Regions from separate parts of the Homo sapiens genome. Here regions 1 and 3 are each linked to region 2. The links are contacts of gene promoters, found by promoter capture Hi-C in human tissues and cell types (Jung and others, 2019). All regions are on one chromosome and are shown on one strand. The core of a region is centred on a gene start or on the middle of the fragment in contact, and the rest is flanking DNA. Distances in the headings are between cores, read along the strand shown.

Region 1 (2,857 bases), core at 142-2,641, 380 kb before region 2:
GGTTGCTCTGTTGCATGTCCAGGGCGTACTTCCACAAGCGGATGCAGCGCTCGAAATTGCCCGAGTCGGCGTACACGGCACCCCTGTAACGGATGTAATAGGAAGTGTCCGGGTGCGAGGGACCGAGGATGCGCTCCCGGATCAACAGGGCCTGCATGCGCATCTCATCCGGGTCGGTGATCAGCGCCTCCAGCTCCTCGGTGGTGTTGACCTCCCTGGAATAGTCATAGGCCAGGACCAGCTGTGGGGGCTCCGGTTTGGGCAGGTACTCGCCCCCCTGGTGACGCAGCTCCATGGCCCGCCTCCAGTGTTTAAGGGCCCCAAGCAGATCTCGTTTCTTATCCACATACGTAGCTCCCAGCAATTCCAAGGCTTCCACGGCAGCTTCCCGGCTGGTGGGACAGCAGCTTTCGTAAGATTCCCCGTTCAGTGGTTCCTCTGGGGAGGAGCTGCAGCACGGAGCCCCCTGAGGCTGCGCACACCCCTGGCTGGTGGAGGGGTCTTCTTGGGGCAGCCCAGGCTGAGCCTCTCCCCCTGCGACCTGCTCCTGGCCGGGCTGCTCCTGGATGAGGTACTCCACGATGTTGGTGTGGCCCGTCACGCTGGCCGCGAGCAGCGGGGTCATGCCGTAGCCGTCACGTTCCATGCGGGCCTTGCACCCCAGCAGCAGCTGCAGGATCTCCAGGCTGCCGGACTCGGCGCAGTCATGCAGGGCCGTGTTGCCCTTGGCGCTGCGCCGGTTCACCTGGGCGCCCTGCTCCAGCAGGTAGCGGGCGATCTCACGGTGGCCCTTGTAGCACGAGATCATGAGGCACGTGTGGCCGTGCCGGTTGGCCACCTCCAGGTCGGCCTGGTGCTCGCCGACCAGGTAGCGCACCACCTCCAGGTGGCCGTCGAAGCAGGCGGCGCGGAGAGGCGTGGAGTTGGTGCGCGTGGTGCGGTTCACCGAGGCCCCGCGGCGCAGCAGGCTCCGCACCACGTCCAGGTGGCCGGCTGCGGAGGCGGCCCACAGCGGCGGCGCGCCCTCGATGGTCTCGCCATCGAAGTGCACCGAGCCACCGGCCTCCACGCTCGCGCCGCACCGGTCCACCAGGTACTCCACCACGTCCAGGTGGCCGTAGCGGGCGGCGATGAGTAGCGGCGTTCCCCCGCCGGCCACCTCGCCCGTCAGCTCGTCCAGTTCCTCCCGGCTCCGGCCGCTGAGCAGCTTCTGGAGCAGCTGCAGCTTGCCATCACGGGCGGCGTTGTACACGGCGGTGCGGAGGTCCATGGTTCGGGCCTCCGCCAGGCCATGGGCCGGCCGCCGGGGGACGGGGAGACGGAGGATCAGAGCCCGGACGGGCGGGAGGCAACCTTCACCGTCCCCCTCGCCGCCATCTTAGGGTCTCCTCGGGCGGAACAAAATGGCTGCCGCGACCCGACGGATGGCAGCACGCCGGGAAATGGAGTCCTTTGCGCGGGCCCACTCCATAGAACAGAAAAGGAATCTTGGGGGCTCAAGACTACACTTCCCCAAAGGCCACAGGACAGCCCCTGAGAGCTGTGAGCGCGCGGCATGGTGGGAATTGGCGTTCCAGTCGCAGCGCATGGCATCGGAAGCTAGCAATTTGAGGACTACAATTCCCGTCATGCAGCGTCACACGACCTAGCTTGTGGGAACCGGCGAAATTTGGTGACGTACTTCCCGTGGCTATCTCTGCGTCAGAGCGTATAGAAAAAGCAGGCGCGATACCCTTAAGGACTACATTTCCCAAAAGGGATCACGAGCGACTCTGAGCCAATCAGGACCGAGACCGAAGGCTAAAAGCGACTAGAGGGGACGCGTCTGTTTTGGGCTTGGAGCACGGGCAAGCGGCCCACCGGCAGGGGGCGCCCGGAGGAGGCCGAAAAGCTGGACGGGGCGAAAACGTTTTGAGCTGGGAGAACGGTAAAAAATGACGCGCTCACTTCTTATTCTCACATTCATATATTCATTTATTCATTTACATACATTTATGTATATTCTAGTATGTGTCAGAATTTCCTTCTTTTATTTACGTATTTATTTTTATTTATTTCTTTCAATAACTTTGTGGGGTTTTTTGGTTTTGGTTTTTGTTTTTGAGACAGCGTCTCGCTCTTGTTGCCTAGGCTGGAGGGCAATGCCGCAATCTCGGCTCACTGCAACCTCTGCCTCCCGGGTTCAAGTGATTCTCGTGCCTCAGCCTCCCGAGTAGCTGGGACTACAGACATCCACCACCACGCCCGGCTAATTTTTGTATTTTTGGTAGAGACGGGTTTCGCCATGTTGGCCAGGATGGTCTCGAACTCCTGACCTTGGGAGATCCGCCCGCCTCAGCCTCCCAAAGTGCTAGAATTACAGGCGTGAGCCACTATGCCCGGCCTGACGTGCTGACTTCAATTCCTTTGGATAAAGACCCAGAAGTGGGATTCCTGGATCACCTGGTAGTTTTATTTTTAAATTTTTCTTTGGAACTTCCATACCATTTTCTATAATGGCTATACTAATTAAAATTACCATCAGTAGTGTATAAGTGTTCTCTTCAAATCCTTGCCAACGTTTGTTACCTTTCGTCTTTTTGATGATAGCTATTCTAGCAGTTGTAAGGTGATCCATTCCCTGGCATTTTTTGACAACAATGAATTATATTATGAAAAAGAAATCTTTGGTGACCCGAATTCTTTATTTTTAAAGTTTATTCGAGGTGTAATATATATACAATAAAATGCATTTTTAATAAAGAGGACAGGTTTGGCCGGGCAAGGTGACTCACACCTGTAATCTCAGCACTTTGGGAGGCTGAGGTGGGAGGATTGCTTGAACCCAGGAATTCGAGACCAGCCTGGGAAACATAGC
Region 2 (2,756 bases), core at 57-2,556:
CCTGGGCAACAGGGTGAGACTCTGTCTTAAAAAAAAAAAAAAAAAAAAAGCGACAGCTGGCCTGGGCGACAGGGAGAGGATGGATTTGTAGCAAAGGAGAGAGGACCTGCCTGTCCAAAGGAGATGGAGTTCTTACAGGAATATAGATCCCTATTTGCTGGTCCTTCCAATTTCTCCAAGAGAAGCTGATATTAGGAATTTCATATGAATTTTTTTAGGTGTTTAAAAATGGACACAGACGGGCACAGTGGCTCATGCCTGTAATCCCAGCACTTTGGGAGGTCAAGGCGGGAGGATCACTTGAGCCCAGGAGTTCAAGACCAGCCTGGGCAATAAAGCAAGACCCTGTCTCTAAAAAAAGCTTTTAGTTAGTCGGGTGTTGTGGTGCACATCTGTAGTCCTAGCTACCCAGGAGTCTGGGGTGGGAGGAGCCCGGGAGGTTGAGGCTGCACTGAGCTGTCCAACCTGGGTGACAGAGTGAGACTGTCTAAAAAAAAAATAAAAAGATACTAAATTAATCAAATAAAACATGTCTCCAGGCTGGTTTCCTGTGCACCACTAATTTACATTCTGTCTAGCTCAACTCTGCTTTTTATTTTAATGTTATTTTTGAGATGGAGTCTTACTCCTGTCACAGAGGCTGGAGTGCAGCGAGTGCCACGATCTCGGCTCACTGCAACCTCTACCTCCCAAGTTCAAGCGATTCTCCTGCCTCAGCTTCTTGAGTAGCTGGGATTATAGGCGTGTGCCACCACACCTGGCTAATTTTTGTATTTTTAGTGGAGATAGGGGTTTCATCATGTTGGCCAGGCTGGTCTCGAACTCCTGACCTCAGGTGATCCACCCGCCTCGCCTCCCAAAGTGCTAGGAATTCAGGCGTGAGCCACCGCGCCCAGCCAACTCTGCTTTTTAGAATGTGGAGTGAAAGCTTAAGACAAAAGGGAAACTTGCTGGGGTTTTCTAGGACTTCTACCTTCTAGGGCACAATATTTTCTATCACCTACCTTCAAACTGAGCATGAGCTACTAGGAATTACCAATAGGATCCATGGTGTGACTCACCATCCACCTAAATGGTCCCAGGAAGGAAGACGAACAGGGAGTCTGGACTTTGGCCTAAGCTATCTCCCACCGGGGCAGGGAATCCTGAAAACCAAACTAGTAGAAGTGAAGAGCAATGGGAAGAGACGCTTAAGAGTGGGAAGAAATAGTTCTCCGGGTTCATTGCAGACTTGCAGTGTAAGACTGAAGTTGACTGAAAAACCAAAGGCCCATTTTCCTGGCAATGGTCTGAGGGGTCAACAAAATTATGTAAGTGATTTCTTTTTTTTTTTGAGACGGAGTCTCGCTCTGTCGCCCAGGCTGGAGTGCAGTGGCGCCATCTCGGATCACTGCAAGCTCCGCCTCCCGGGTTCAAGCGATTCTCCTGCCTCAGTCTGCCCAGTAGCTGGGACTATAGGTGCCCACCACCATGCCTGGGTAATTTTTTTGTATTTTTAGTAGAGATGGGGTTTCACCATGTTAGCCAGGATGGTCTCGATCTCCTGACCTCGTGATCCGCCCGCCTCGGCCTCCCAAAGTGCTGGGATTAAAGGCGTGAGCCACCGCGCCCGGCCAACAGTGATTTCTTTATCTGGGAAAGCTGAACCCCTGACTAGGACCTCTCACAGAATAAAAGCTTCAGATGAATGAGCTCAAGACAGCCTTTCCACCTGGGTCCCACTGAGTCCTTTCTGGACTAAACCTTTCTTTAGGGAAAGGCCGAGCCGTTGTGAGAAGGCTGCCCGTGTTGGCAGGAGCTCTTTCACCACCGAGATCAGGCCAGGGTGTTCAGTCTTTGCTGAGAATGTGGCAACAGAAATGCCAGCCCGAGGCAGCCTCACCAAATGCTGCAGAAAAAGCATCTGTCTCTCCAGCATCTACTCTGCCTGCCAAGGCTGTGTGCCTCTCCCCCACGCTGAGGGATTTAACTGCAGAATATGGGAGCCGCAGCTCTCCGGGGCTGCCCTTTGTGTTCAGAGATTATAATACGGAATGTGGTCTTGGGGTGGCGGGGAATTCAGTTCCTTAGTCTTGCCCATGCCTGAAGCTCAGCTGCAGAATCTCCTGCCTCTTACAATGCCCCCCCTCTGCTGTGAGTCCAGAGATAACAGACTTGATGTGACTGGCAAGAGCCCGCTCAGTAATATCCAACAACCAAAACAGAGCAATTACTGCTTAATTTAAAACTGGTATCTTTTTTGCTTTGCCAAACCCTCAGATGGACCTTGAAGTCTGACAGAACTTTATCTTCTTGAAATTTGACCCAAGTGTTTATAGATCTCACTCTCAAAATTCTATGCAACACTCCCACATTCTACCCAGCTGGAGCCCGGTCAGACAGCACCCTCAACTGCCAAAAACGTGATCCAGGATCCCAGAAGGAAGCCAAAACACAAAAACCGACAATCCCAAGGAGTCGCGACAGAGCTCACTATGTGTGGGCATGAAAATTCCTGCACCCTTTCTCAGATAATCCTCTCAGAGCCTATGGACTCTGATTTTATACTAAAGGGTATCTAATTTCTAAGCCCAGACCAGATAAGCCGCTAAAACCTGACAGCAGGGGAGCGGAGGCAGGGGGGAAAAGAGAAAACCTCCAATTGGCCCAAGCATGAGAGAGTGCAAGCTGGGAAAATAAGAACGCACGCATTGCCTTGAGCTACCAAGACCTCATTCTCCTTAACAGCCCAAGGCCACTTGTAGAAGGAAGCTCAA
Region 3 (2,978 bases), core at 148-2,647, 290 kb after region 2:
ATTTGTACATCTGTGTTCATAGCGGCACGATTCACCGAAGTGTCTAGTGGCAGATAAATGGATAAGCAAAATATAGTCCATGCACACAATAGAATATTATTCAGCCTTAAAAAGGAGGAAAATCCTGACTGGGTGCGGTGGCTCACGCCTGTAATCCCAGCACTTTGGGAGATCGAGGCGGGTGGATCACGAGGTCAGGAGATGGAGACCATCCTGGCTAACACGGTGAAACCCCGTCTCTACTAAAAATACAAAAAAATTAGCCGGGCATGGTGGTGGGCACCTGTAGTCCCAGCTACTCGGGAGGCTGAGGCAGGAGAATGGCGTGAACCCGGGAGGCAGAGTTTGCAGTGGGCCGAGATCGCACCACTGCACTCCAGCCTGGGTGACAGAGCGAGACTCCGTCTCAAAAAAAAAAAAAGGGAAATTTTTCTTTTTTTTTTTTTTTCTGCTCTTTTTTGGAGCAGGGCTACCCGATTGGAAGTATGCCCGGAGTAGTCAAGTGGGTAAATTCTAACACAGGTTACAACGTGGATCTAACACAGCTACAACAGGCACCTTGAGGACGTGGCCCTCAGTGAAATATGCCAGCCACAAAGGGACAAAACCTGTGTGATCCTACTCATATGAAGTCCCTAGAATCATCAGATTCACAGGAAGTACGACGTTGGGTTCCAGGGGCTGGGGAGGGGGATAGGGAGTGAGGTTTCATAGGGGACAGTGTTTCAGTTTCGGAAGATGAGAAAATTCTGGAGATGGTGGTGGTGGTGGTTGCTTAATGCCGCTGAGCTGTGCATTTAGAAATGGTTAAAATGACAAGTTTTATGTTATGTGTATTTTATAATAAAAATGTTTCAACATGCGCATAGTAATATATGCAATTTTATTTGTCAATTAAAATAAATTTTAAAAATGTTTTAGAGTGGCCTTGTTCTGATGAAGGAGGGGGAGTAACTGACACTCTAAGGCGGTGGGGGCTAGGGGCGTGTGTCCACGCTTGCCAAAAAGATTAAATGGACTCTGGGTGGGTCTCGTCCACTGTTCTGGGGTCTTACGGGTTCTCTCAGCCCCAGCCTGGGGCACCACAGGCTCTCAGGAGTCTGGCTACCCTGCCCACCTGTGCACGACCATCACCCCAGCCTTCATCCCTCCGTCTCCTCCCCTGCTCCCGCGCCTCATGCCCCAAGCGCTTGGGCACACGCGCCGTGGTAAGGCAAGCGAGGGCGCCCGGTCCCGGCACCGCCTCGCGTCGGTCTCCGCCCCTTTCCCCTCCGAAAGGCGGCCTTGTGCTGCTGCGCAGGCGCGGCGGCTGGGGGTGGGGTCCATCGCGGCTCCCGATCCCGTTATCGCGAGAAGCCGGTCCGCGATCTTGTGGCCGCCCCTCCCCTCCCCCTGCCTCTCGGACTCGGGCTGCGGCGTCAGCCTTCTTCGGGCCTCGGCAGCGGTAGCGGCTCGCTCGCCTCAGCCCCAGCGCCCCTCGGCTACCCTCGGCCCAGGCCCGCAGCGCCGCCCGCCCTCGGCCGCCCCGACGCCGGCCTGGGCCGCGGCCGCAGCCCCGGGCTCGCGTAGGCGCCGACCGCTCCCGGCCCGCCCCCTATGGGCCCCGGCTAGAGGCGCCGCCGCCGCCGGCCCGCGGAGCCCCGATGCTGGCCCGGAGGAAGCCGGTGCTGCCGGCGCTCACCATCAACCCTACCATCGCCGAGGGCCCATCCCCTACCAGCGAGGGCGCCTCCGAGTGAGTGGGCAGGGGTCAGCCGGAGGCTTGGGGTGCACGGGGCAGGGAGCCCTCGGGGAAGGACGGGGCGAGGGGACGGGGGTTCGCGAGGAGTGCACGAGGCAGGGGGGTCACGGGGGAGGACGGGGTGAGTGGTGCACGGGGCAGGGGGTTCTCGAGGGGAGGACAGGGCAGGGGACCCTCGGGGGAGGACGGGGCAGGGGGCCCTCGGGGGAGGACGGGGCAGGGGGCCCTCGGAGGACGGGGCGAAGGGTGCACGGGGCAGGGGGGTCTTTGAGCAGTGAGATTGGGCGAGGGGAGGTCCTTGTGGTGGAAAAGATGGGGTGTGGGGTTCCTGAAGAGTGGAATTGGGATAACGGGAGTCTCTGAGTAGTGAAGTTGGGGTGAAGGATGTCTCTAAGAGGAGAGGATGGGGACAGGGGTCCCTGAGCAGCGAGGTTGAGTGAGGGGAGGTCCCTGCAGTGCAGAAGATGGGGTGTGGGGCTTCTGAAAAGTGAAGCTGGGGTGAGGGGAGTCCCTCAGTAGGAAAATCGGAATGAGGGGTGTCCCCAAGGAGAGAACAGGATGAGGCTCCCCAAGCAGTGAGATCGGGGTGAGGGGTATCTCTAAGAGGAGAGAACACAGTGTGGGGTCCTTGAGTAGTGAAATGAGGGTGAAGAGTTCCTAAGAGGAAAGGACGGAGTAAAGGTTGCCGTAGTCATGAGATGAGGGTGAGGGGAGACCCTGAGTAGGGAAATCGGGGTGCAGGGCATTCCTGAGAGGAGAGGATGGGGTGTGGGGAGGTCAGGCAGCCCCTGAGGAGGAAATCTGGGCAAGGGGGCTCCAGAGGGGAGAGGATGGGGTGAGGGGTCCCTGAGTAATGAGACTGAGATGGGGTAGGGTCCCTGGTAGGAAAAGACGGGGTAAGGGTCCCTCAATAATGAGATAGGGCCAAGGGAGGTCCCTGTGGGAAAAGACAGGGCATGGAGTCACTGAGTAGCAGAATGGTGGTAGGTCTCTGAGTAGTGAAATGGGGTGAACGGTCCCTGAATAGTGAAATCGGGGAGATGGTGGGGTCCCTGAGTAATGAGATTGGAGTGAGGGGAGATCCCTTTGGGGAAAAGATGGGGTTTGGAATCCCTAAGTCGTGAGATCAGGCCAAGGAGATGTCCTTGCAGAGAGAAGATGGGGTGCAGGGCCCCTGAATTGTGAGATGGGGTTGAGGGGGTCCCTGGGAGGAGAGGATGTGTCGGTGGGGGCCTGT

Evidence for each region. The method cuts DNA at HindIII sites, captures the fragments that hold promoters and counts their contacts. A contact is called where the count stands out against the background at its distance.
Region 1: the fragment with the promoter of FEM1A here is called in contact with a fragment that was not itself captured in region 2 in 2 of the 25 tissues and cell types used here (dorsolateral prefrontal cortex and spleen).
Region 3: the fragment with the promoter of MAP2K2 here is called in contact with a fragment that was not itself captured in region 2 in 1 of the 25 tissues and cell types used here (dorsolateral prefrontal cortex).

Annotation. Positions count from the first base shown.
Region 1 is chr19:4,790,268-4,793,124 of GRCh38, reverse strand. It overlaps FEM1A (fem-1 homolog A), which reads right to left and starts at 1,391. Exons shown (of 1, transcript NM_018708.3): 1 at 1-1,391. The coding sequence starts at 1,270. LOC124904620 (a long non-coding RNA gene) reads left to right here and starts at 1,833. Exons shown (of 2, transcript XR_007067103.1): 1 at 1,833-1,927. RefSeq lists enhancers at 1-423, 711-770, 424-1,080, 1,301-1,570, 1,081-1,738. The HindIII fragment of the contact is 32,697 bases long and covers 1-2,857 here.
Region 2 is chr19:4,414,751-4,417,506 of GRCh38, reverse strand. All of the region lies in intron 3 of CHAF1A (chromatin assembly factor 1 subunit A), which reads right to left. Among named protein-coding and RNA genes, the nearest start is that of CHAF1A, 13 kb to the right of the region's middle. The HindIII fragment of the contact is 3,051 bases long and covers 1-2,756 here.
Region 3 is chr19:4,122,541-4,125,518 of GRCh38, reverse strand. MAP2K2 (mitogen-activated protein kinase kinase 2) reads left to right here and starts at 1,397. Exons shown (of 11, transcript NM_030662.4): 1 at 1,397-1,735. The coding sequence starts at 1,644. RefSeq lists silencers at 1,245-1,364, 1,555-1,804. The HindIII fragment of the contact is 9,633 bases long and covers 1-2,978 here.